3 separate regions of the Homo sapiens genome follow, and regions 2 and 3 are each linked to region 1. Evidence: promoter capture Hi-C in human tissues and cell types (Jung and others, 2019). All regions are on one chromosome and are shown on one strand. Each heading gives the region's core, a stretch centred on a gene start or on the middle of the fragment in contact. The rest is flanking DNA. Distances are from core to core; before and after follow the strand shown. Region 1 holds the start of ATP1A2 (ATPase Na+/K+ transporting subunit alpha 2). Region 2 overlaps PEX19 (peroxisomal biogenesis factor 19). Region 3 overlaps DCAF8 (DDB1 and CUL4 associated factor 8).

What was found. Contacts are between HindIII fragments. The study calls those that stand out against the background at their distance.
Region 2: a fragment that was not itself captured here is called in contact with the fragment with the promoter of ATP1A2 in region 1 in 2 of the 25 tissues and cell types used here (mesendoderm cells and neural progenitor cells).
Region 3: a contact is called between a fragment that was not itself captured here and the fragment with the promoter of ATP1A2 in region 1, in 4 of the 25 tissues and cell types used here (H1 embryonic stem cells, IMR-90 fibroblasts, aorta and 1 more).

What each region holds. Positions count from the first base shown.
Region 1 is chr1:160,113,902-160,117,406 of GRCh38, reverse strand. ATP1A2 (ATPase Na+/K+ transporting subunit alpha 2) reads right to left here and starts at 1,648. Exons shown (of 23, transcript NM_000702.4): 1 at 1,534-1,648. The coding sequence starts at 1,545. RefSeq lists enhancers at 1,374-2,157, 2,910-3,505. The HindIII fragment of the contact is 19,722 bases long and covers 1-3,505 here.
Region 2 is chr1:160,274,422-160,277,926 of GRCh38, reverse strand. It overlaps PEX19 (peroxisomal biogenesis factor 19), which reads left to right. Exons shown (of 8, transcript NM_002857.4): 8 at 1-1,120. Among named protein-coding and RNA genes, the nearest start is that of PEX19, 9.0 kb to the left of the region's middle. The HindIII fragment of the contact is 8,705 bases long and covers 1-3,505 here.
Region 3 is chr1:160,256,389-160,259,893 of GRCh38, reverse strand. The region is part of intron 2 of DCAF8 (DDB1 and CUL4 associated factor 8); the gene reads left to right. Among named protein-coding and RNA genes, the nearest start is that of DCAF8-DT, 3.6 kb to the left of the region's middle. The HindIII fragment of the contact is 6,807 bases long and covers 1-3,505 here.

The DNA.
Region 1 (3,505 bases), core at 399-2,898:
CTCCTGAGCTGGGTCTACCTTGCTCTAAGATGGAGCAGGGTAGGGGGCTACCTCCCCTCCTTCTCTCTTCACTTGGATGGGGGAAATGGAGGGCTTATCTGATCCTTTAACCCCTGCCTCTTCTCAGAGGTCCTGCATCTCAGCTAGGGATGCCCTTTCCATGGGGAGCCAGAGATGTCAAGATGCAGCTGAAGGTCCCAAGACAGTATATCTTCCTGCAGCTATGACCTCTTCCTCCGTGAAGCCCATACCTCACAGCTCCTAAGGGCAGGCTCACAGACTCTCAAGCACCCCCACACAGTGACATTTATGCTTGTGCAGGCTTGAAGGCTTGTACATTTACAAATTTGCCTGCTGAGACACAAACACAGGTACTCATCCATGAGTAACTGCAGGACTCCCCGCCTATGGAGAACACGTGGTCAAGGACACACACTCACACACACACAGACACAGACACACAGATACATGCATGCACTCCAATTCTATTTATGGCTCCAACCCTAGCTCAGGAACCCTGGTGTCCAGGCTCAGGATTTCCCAGCTGCTCAACTAGGTGCAATAACATGTCCTTGCCTGACTCCTCCTGGGCCCAGAAACACCCACGGCTCCCCCTAGGCACAGTCTTCCTCATACCCTCCTGTTCCGCAGCATGCCCTTTCCCTCTGTGTCCTCTTTTGCCAGTATTCCACAAAAGGAAAGCAGCCAGGCACAGCATGTAAAAGGATTGGGCCACTCTTCTCCATATGGGAATTTCATTTCCAAGAATTCAAAGCCCTCTCCCTGCCCGCCCCATTGTTGTTAATCTTCCTCTTGGTGTAGCCATTGCTGCAGAATGCCATGGACGGGTGGACTGGGGGGGGGGTCACCTGTCACCAGCCTCTGGGAAAGTCCTCAAAGCCCATGGCTTGGAACCCACGGACAATGCTGCTCGGGACATCCGGAGGGGTGCTGGGGTGGGGGCTGGGTCATCATTCTTCCTCCCCACACCCCGCCCAGCTGTCCTTGGCACTCAGGGCCCCTGGAGCTGGTGTCCGGAACTACTTGGTGACTCTGGGAGCCGGATGCTCTACTGCCCCTCTCTAACCTCAAAATGGACCCCCAGCCTCTCAGGCTAGGACTCCCAGAGGAATGGATATTTTCAGGAGGTGGCAAAGACAGGAGGACTCACAGTGCCAAACATCCTTTCAGCTGGGAGGCCGGGAGATGCAGTGAGAGGAGGGACTGCTGCAGGGAAGGACTAGAGATGTGGGAGTGGGGTGGAGGGAGAGATGGAGGGGGCATGTGTGGTGGGCTGTGGGTCTAACTGTGGGCAGGGGGCTGGGGCGTGCAGAGGAGAGGAGAGCACTAGGGTATGTGACCGCCGTGGGATCTGTACACACATTGGTAGTTTGGAGACTGTTAGTTTCAAGTTCCAAGTATCCCACTCAGCTCCTCTCTCCCGCTCCTTCCACATCCCATTCCCACTTCATCCTTCCTCAGCAGCCTCCCTCACCCTCTAGACTGCGACCCCTGCTCTTTAGGGATACTCACCCCACGGCCCATCTTGGGGCAGAGTGGCTGAGGGACCTTAGCGGGAGAGGTCACCAGGAGGATCCCAAGCCCACACCAGCCCGTCTGGGACAGTCGGAGACCCTGGCAGACAGAGAAAGCCAAAGCAACAGGGTAGCTTTAAATAGGTCCTTCTCCCCCTCTCCCCCGCCTTCCCCTCCTCCGAAAGAAACGTTTGTTGAAACAGGATCCCTGAGGACTCCTCCCCTCCCGCCCCTTTAGCCACTGGCCCTAGACAGCCCGTTTGTCCCACGGCATGCCCCCCCTTGGCTCCTCTCAACCCCCTCTGGCCTGTGGCACTCACAACTGAGAGAGGCTGCAAGGGAAGGGGGCCTGGGTCCCAGGTTGGGGGGATATGCCCCCTTGGATCTGGCTGAAGGGGAGCAGTTGACTCAGAATCCCAGGATGACAGAGACCATGTGGCCTAACTCTTCTTTTCCAAGTGGGTAAACTGAGGCTCAGAGAGATTAAACAATTTGAATTGATAAGACAGAGCCAGAACTCAGGTCTCCCGAGTCTACATCCAATCTCCCAGAGAAAGAAAGAAACATAGACCACTCTGTTCCTTCTATTATAGAGGTTGCAGGGACACTGAAGCCCAGAAATAGAATTTGAACCGAAGGCTGACCTCTGCACTTGAGGCACCTGGAAGGGGGGCCCAGGAGGAGTCAAAGGTGGCTCGGGAGGCAGCGGGAAGTTTGGAGATGGAGGCAAGAGGGTGTCCCCAAACCCTGCCAGATGTAACCTCTCCAAAGTTTTGAAGGAGAATCAAGACTCTGGTAGGGAGGGGCAGGCCAGGGCTAGAGGGGAACGGGTGGGACTCCTAGCAGGCACCTGATGACATCTCTGGGTTTTGTTTACCCCTCGTTTACCGTTTCATTGCTGTTGAAGAGCTCTAGACTGAATCTATGCCTGAGTAGAGTAGTGATAGGGAGAAGTCAAAAGAGAGGAAAATACAGAACCTCTAAGATGTGTGTGAAGGTCAATATCATAGCAAATATCAGACATGTGAACGGGAAAGGAGAGCGACTGTTTCCTTCTTCCAGTGGGGAAGGGGAAGCAAAGCTGCAGCATGCAGGACTGAGGCTGGAGAACAGGCCTCTCTGCAGTGAAGTGGGGGAGATTGGAAATGTCTGAGGAGTGAGGATGCCCATCAGAGTCAGGAGCAATCCCAGAAATGCCTAAGGCTTTGCCTGGGGCTGGAAAGGGTATCTTTAACCTTATACCAGCTAGAAACTGGGGACAACGAGATGACCCAGGACAGGACCAGCTGGTCTAGGGGTGTTGTTGCTGCTCATTTGATGAGTAATCCAAAGGATGAGGGGCACAGAGAGGAAGGGGAACCCAGAAGGGGCAGAGAGAAAAGAAAAAATTCTGCTCCCGCCTTCTACTGGGAACAGTCAGAGGACAGGATTCCCCTGGAGTACCCCTGTTTCTCTGGGCACAGAGATGGAGTGAGGGGAAGCCAGCGGAGTGGGGCAGGTCTAAGTGTCCTGAGTGCAAAGAAAGCAGAGAGGAAGGGAGGGAGGGAAGGGGGGCTTTGGCCAGAGGCCTAAGGTGCCTGCTGGCTGGGCTGGGTCCATCTCTGGCCCCAGAGGGAACTCCCTGCAGAGGGATTATCAGCCTCTCCTCTAGCAAATCCACTCTCAGGGCACAAGGCTAACATCTGAATTCCCTAAATAACTGGCCCCCTCCGGGCCTGCAGTTGAGATTTTCCATTACAGGGACCTGGTAGGTCACATCTCACTTCCACGCTCCTTCCCTCTCTGGGTTACAGTCAGAAAGGGTGGGTAGGATGGGGCCAACAGGGCCTTCTCATGGCCCCCCTCTCCGAGCTCAGATTTGGTCTTGGGAGAGAATGGGCAGAGGGAGGAAACAATGAAGGGAACAGATACCAGTTCAGCCCCTGTGTGTTAAGGAGAGAGTGAGAGGGGAGTAGCGGGAAAGCCTGTGG
Region 2 (3,505 bases), core at 316-2,815, 160 kb before region 1:
GGAAATTCCAACTCCTATACCTTACCAGAGCATGGAAGAGCCCAGATCTGAATGTAAAACGTCTCTGTTCTGCCAGAGATGGAAAAAATACAGGTATACTTGTGATATAGTCATGGGGCTTCAGTGTCACTATTTTCTCCTTAAAGCTCCAGCCAAAAACTGGACAAGGATAGAGAGGAGGAGGGAAGAACAAAAGAGCCCTTCTCTATGAACCTTGTGCCTTCTGTCCTACCAGTTTTCTTTTACAGATTCTCACTTCTGCTAGCCTAGCCAGGGCTTACTCCAGGAATCTAAATAGATGCCCTAGTCCACTTTATCTTTGTTCCCAAGGCACTCATTTTTATTTTGATTTTGATTGAATGTGAGCAGGTTGACCTCAGGTCACACTTTGTTCCAAAAACTTTTGGAATTATTCCAGGACTTGTGGTGGAGTTATGGTACTCTAGGGCAGTCTTTCTCAAACTATGTATGGTAAAGGACCAGGTTTTTTGTTTTCCAGTCCTTCACTTATCAATATGCATTCCTATTGCCCATGACAGGTATGGAGTTCACACTGTGTGCTGCCGACCCGGCAAGTTTGACAGCACCCAAACTGGCCAGACTGTTCTGTAGGTTAAGTCCATTGATCATGTACTTGGATATCACAGCAACATTGAAATGCTAAAAAGTTTTTAAACACTCTCAATTTCTAATTCACCATGTCACAGACTGGTGAAAAAAAAAAAAAGGTGTTCACTGACCAGCACAAGTCTGCAGATCATCTTTGAGTAGCACTGTTTTGGGGCCCTCGGTCTCTCTGAAGACCCTAGCAGAACTGATACCTACCTGTATCTCTTGTTCTCTCCTATTTGAGTTTCACTTCCAGAGAACTTGTTCTTCAGCAAGAATGTGTCACTAGTAAGGACATCTCTAGCATTTCTCTAGCCTTCCTTTTCTGCTGCTCAAAAATAATCGTTACAAAGCTTAGGTTTAAGCTGTATATGAAATATTTATGCGACTCTCAAACTTTAAAGGAGTTGCTCCTTTGTTCCAAAATTAAATGTGTTAGATAAATTTGTGATTGTATGGGTGGCTTCATGAATTAAGAATTGAATTAATACAGACTTTTTGATAATTGGGACATTTTCCTGTGACTCTGGAAGGTCTTGTCAAAGCCCCATGAGGCAGTTATAATATGATGTTAAGATGGCTTTGGGGAGCTAGGAGAAAACATTGGCCCATATTGAATGACGTGGAGACGGCAGACCATACAAAAAAGGACCAAAAGACTTAGAGGAAATGGGTATGCAAGAATGAATGTTATATAACACTGGTAAACCCACCAGCTGACTACCCCAGAAAGACCTGGGAATTATTTTTTAATAAAGACAATGGGAAAGGCACTGATGAAGGGTTACCAGCATCTTTGAGAAATTTAGAAGTGGCTGTCTCTCTAGATCGAAGCTGATACAAGATGTAAAAGAAACTGTTTTCCTAGTAGCAGTGGGGGAATGATAGGATCCTGACATAGCAGAGGCCAGGTGGCAACACTTAACTCTCAGAAGCAAGGTGAGTAAATTTCCTTAAGGGTAGCAAGGTCAAAGTGGAGATGGCTAACGGAATGTGAGTGGTCCTAGGAGCAGGATAGATGGGCAACCAAGAAGAGTATTGTCTTATATATAAGGGAGATCAAGAATGGTTGAACAGAAGGCTGAAGTCAGAAACTTCAAAGAAAAGTCCCCATTTCTTGTCCAGTTTTTAAGCCTGAGATAGTTCTTAGACTCATAAACTATCAATGGAAAGAGACATTTATCAGTTAATCATTGAGTGGAAAAGCACTGTTCATCCTCTGTTCTCACACCACAATGAGTGACACAGAACTCTTCTGTAATCACGTGTGGAATTCCCTCCCCTCAACAAGCAAGCAATTCTGCAGTGGATAACAGCTGGATATCCTCTAATTTACTTTAATTCTGACACTGTCTACCTGGAGACAGTGTCAGATCCCACAGGTTGACCAATCAATCACTGAGACTCTCCCCCCCAACTTCTGATGTCAATTGCAATTCCTGGGTTATTTTGCCTGTGCTATAAATCAGGGTGTCTACAGCCAGCTCCTTGGGTTTGGTTAATTTGTTAGAGTGGCCCACAAAACTTGGGGAAACACTTACTTACATATTTCAGTTTATTTAAAGGATATTACAATGAATATAGATGAAAACATGGCTGGACCCAGTGGCTCACGCTTGTAATCCCAACACTTTGGGAGGCCGAGGTGGGTGGATCACCTAAGGTCAGGAGTTCGAGACCAGCCTGGCGAACATAGTGAAACCCCGTCTCTATTAAAAAAATACAAAATTTAGCTGGGTGTGGTGGTGCATGCCTGTAGTCCCAGCTACTTGGGAAGCTGAGGAAGGAGAATTGCTTGAACTGGGGAGGCGGAGGTTGCAGTGAGCTGAGACTGTGCCACTGTACTCCAGCCTGGGCAACAGACAGAGCAAGACTCCATCTCTCAAAAAAAAAAAGATGAAAAGATGTATAAGGCAAGGTTGCAGAGCTTCCATTCCTTCTCTGGGCATGCCACCATTTAGGACAGCGGTCCCCAACATTCTTGGCACCAGGGACCAGTTTCATAGAAGACAAGTTTTCCACAGAGGGGGGTGGGGGGATGGTTTTGGGATGAAACTGTTCTACCTCGGATCATCAGGCATTAGCTAGATTCTCATAAGGGGCACACAACCTAGATCCCTCGCATGTGCAGTTCACAATAGGGTTTGCACTCCTCTGAGAATCTAGTGCCACTGCTGATCTGACAGGAGGTGGAGCTTAGGCGGTATTGCTGGCCCACCTGCCACTCACCTCCTGCTGTGAGGCCCAGTTCCTAACAAGCCATGGACTGGTACTGGTTCGTGGCCCAGGTGTTGGGGACCCCTCATTCTATAAACCCTCATGTGTTTGACATCTTGGAAGCTGTCTAGATCTTGTCTTTTTGGGTTTTTATGGAGGCTTTATATATAGGCATGATTAGCTGAACCATTGGCCATTGGTGATTAATTTAAAATTCAGCCCCTCTGTCCTCCCTAGAGGTTTGGGGGTGGGGTTGAAAGTTCCAACCCTCTAATACTGCTTTGGTCTTTTTGTTGACTGACCCTGAACCTGAAGCTACCTAGGGGATGCCAACCATCAGTCAACTCATTGGAATACAATAAGACATCACTTTGAAGATTTTAAGGATTTTAGAAGTTATATTCCAGGAAAAGGGGTTAAAGACCAAATACATATTTTACAATATCACAACCAAACACTGGGAAAAGAATATGCAGAAGTTTTTGACTTGGGAAACAGGGTTACAGGGTCTGAGTTGGCATTGATACCCAGGAACCTGAAGTACCACCACAGTGTCTTCCCCTCTCAACACCCCCAACCCTGCTCTCACAGTGGGTCCAAAAACCCACATTATGATCATTTCCCCCATTTCCAAATGTATAATCAGAATGAATATGTTTAGCAGTTTTGGCAGAAAGGC
Region 3 (3,505 bases), core at 477-2,976, 140 kb before region 1:
GGACAGAGAATATTAGATATTGGTGTATGTATATTTCAAAATGTATTCTTAAACATCAGTAAATTTTTTTGTTCATTGGTTCCTTCATCTTGGACTCTCTGTTAGCACACCTGATCAGAGTTGGCCGTGTTGTAATTCTTTCCCTCTCTGCTGCAATGTTGTTTACTTCTACTGCAACTATTCTTTATACTTTCCTTTTTTGCCATGAAGGGAATACATTTTTTCCTTCTTGTTGGGCTATACAGTGATCCTCATCAACAAATTATCAAAGAACTGTATGAGGAAAAGGTCTCTTTTTTTAAAAGTGAATCAGGGCTGGGGAGTTAGGAATGAAGAGGTTTTTTTTGTTTGTTTGTTTGTTTTTTGACGAGTCTTGCTCTGTCACCAGGCTGGGGTGCTGTGGCGCGATCTCAGCCCACTGCAACCTCCGACTCCCTGGTTCAAGCGATTCTCCTGCCTCAACCTCCCGAGTAGCTGGGATTACAGGCATGCGCCACCATGCCCAGCTAATTTTTGTATTTTTAGTAGAGGAGGGGTTTCACCATGTTGGCCAGGGTGGTCTCAATCTCCTGACCTTGTGATCTGCCCGCCTCAGCCTCCCAAAGTGCTAGGATTACAGGTGTGAACCACCATGCCCGGCCAAAGAGTTCTTTTTTCAGCTCCACAGCTGGACCGTCTTAATAATATGACAGCACAGATGAAGAGTTTTAAACCTTTTGTTGGCTTTTCTTTCGTATCTTTTTGGCAAGGGCACATGAAAATTAAGTACTGATAATATCACAATGAAAGCAGCTGTGTCATTCAGACCAGTGACCATTTTAGGTTTGATGAACTTTTCATTACCATCATCCAGGGTCTAAATTCTCCATTGTAAGGTAAGGATTCTCCAGGGTGGTGGTGAGGTGGGTTGAGATTGCATTTGTATCATTTGTGTTTTTATGAACTCTGAAGATCCATGTCGGGTGAAGGAAAGGATGGGAGGAGAAAAGGAAATACTTTGAAAGAGGGATAACTTGGACTGTTTATTTCCTTATGTGCTGGGTAAGAATGTCCAGGTGACATCTATATGTAGTAAATCAGTATTTCTAGTCTGTGGACCACACTGTAAACTTTTTATCTTTCTAAAGTTTTTTTTATTTTTGTAGAGATAGGGTCTCACTTTGTTGCCTAGGCTGGTCTCAAACTCCTGGGCTCAAGTGATCTTCCCACCTCAGCTGAGTAGCTGGGACCGCAGGGGCATATCACCATACCTAGCTAATTTTTGGTTGTTTTTTTTTTGTTTGTTTGTTTTTTTAAAGAGATGAGGTCTTACTTGCCCGGCTCAAGTGATGCTCCCATCTTGGCCTCCCAAAGTGCTGGGATTACAGGCATAGCCGCAGCACCCAGCTTGAAGATATTTTTATATTTCCAGGGTTTTAGGTGTTTACTTAAGAATTGTGACATCTTATTAGGTAGTATTTCCTAGGATGATTAGAGTGGGAGGCTAAGAATGCTTGTGACCTTTTAGTTCCCACCACCAACCTCTTAAAGTGCAGTCTATTTATTTATTTTTGAAATAGGATCTCACTCTGTCACCTAGAGTGCAGTGGCACTATCATGGCTCACTGCAACCTCGACCTCTTGGGCTTAGGTGATTCTCCCATCTCAGCCTCTCGAGTAGCTGGGACTACAGGTGCACGCCACCGTACCTGGCTAATTTTTGTATTTTTTGTAAAGATGAGGTTTCACCATATTGCCCAGGCTGGTTTCAAACCCCTGGGCTCAAGCAATCCTCCTGCCTCAGCCTCCCAGAGTGCTGGGATTACAGGCGTGAGCCACTGCACCCTGCTAAATGCAGTCAATTAAATGTATAAGAATCTGCCAGGCTGAGTGCGGCTGGCTCATGGCTGTAATCCCAGCACTTTTGGGAGGCCAAGGTGGGAGGATCACTTGATCCTAGTTGTTCAAGTCCAGCCTAGGCAATATTGAGACCTTGTCTCTACAAAAAGTTTAAAAAAAAAGCCAAGCATGGGGCAAGTACTTGCAGTCCCATCTCCTTGGGAGGCTGAGGTGGGAGGATTGTTTGAGTCCAGGAGGTAGAGCTGAGATTGCGCAGTGATCACTGCAGTGCGCTGAGATTGCGCCTCTGCAGTTTAGTATGGGCAACAGAGCGAGACCTAGTCTCAAAAAAAAGAATCAGTTCCAGTGCCATGGTCCTTAGTGTGGAGTAGGACCAACCTAAGACAGAAGCTTGTCTACAGAGAGCTGAAAGAAAGCAGCCTCTTTGTTGCCAGTTTAAAACAATACTGGCATTTTAAAAGCAAACAGATTCTAGTAGGAGACATTGTATAGAAGCGCACCCTGTTGTGAAAGACTGGGATCTTGAGTTTCGTGCTCTAAGTCTTGTATTCTATCAGGGGAGTAATAGGCTTTTAAAATCATAAAGTGACTATTAAAATGCTTTCAGTAGATAGATTCATTACTCCATTATTTCTACTGTATAAAAGTTTATTCTAAACATGTCTAGGAAATATCCAGATTATAAAAGAGAAATAACGGTATCCAAACCAGACTTTTTATTGCATAACATTGGTGTTAGAGTTAGTTTTTAAGTCTCTGAGATTGAATTAGCTTTTTTTTTTTTTAAAGCAGATTATCAGTGAGCTAAGATAATCTGCTGTTTACCCTCACCTATTTGGAACACAGGCAACTGAATTAATTGAATCAGCAATAGGCATGGGGTAGTGACTTTGTATATTTTCATTTTAGAGCCAAAAGCCAGTGAGTTTTAGATTAGCTTTATAGTAATATTAAAAACTTCATCTTTTATTTTTACAAATGTAGCCAAGAAACATCATTGCTGTTAAAATCAGTCAGAAAAGGAGGCTACTTGCTCTTTATTGATTTAGTCATTCTGCTCTTGGAGTGAGTAGAAAGTCTTTGAAAGCTTTTCAAAAATTAGCGAGTGATGAATTTTATGAATTAGTCACTTCTTTGCAGCAGTTTTTTTTTATCTCTACCTCTGTAGGACATAGTTCCTGGGCCAGAAGCCAGATTTCTCAAGTACCATCTAACCCCAGGAATGTGTTATGATACAGATAAATTAATGAACGGAGGCTGCCTTGAGGTTGCCAATAGGGCATTGGGGAGTAATTAATATGACAAAGATGTCATCTTATTAATGAAATGTATTAATAGTATGTCTAGTGGATTGGGTCAATGCAAACATTTTAGATTAGATATTTGCTGTTTATCCTCTGAAGTTACTGTTTAAGGAAGTCTGGCCAAGTTCTAAAGTGAAGCATACATATTTGCCTCACGTGCCATTTTTTTTTTTCTTCCTGGCTTTTTCTTAGCCATCTGGAAAGCTACTATAGGGTTTACCTCTAATGGTAGTCAAGTTACTGTATTCCTCTGGTGTACTTTAATGATTGCCACATTACCAGGTATGTTTTGTTAACCTTACTTAGAATCCAACATTAGACCCTTTCTTCTAACCTAACCTGTAGGAAGGCACTTCTTGAGG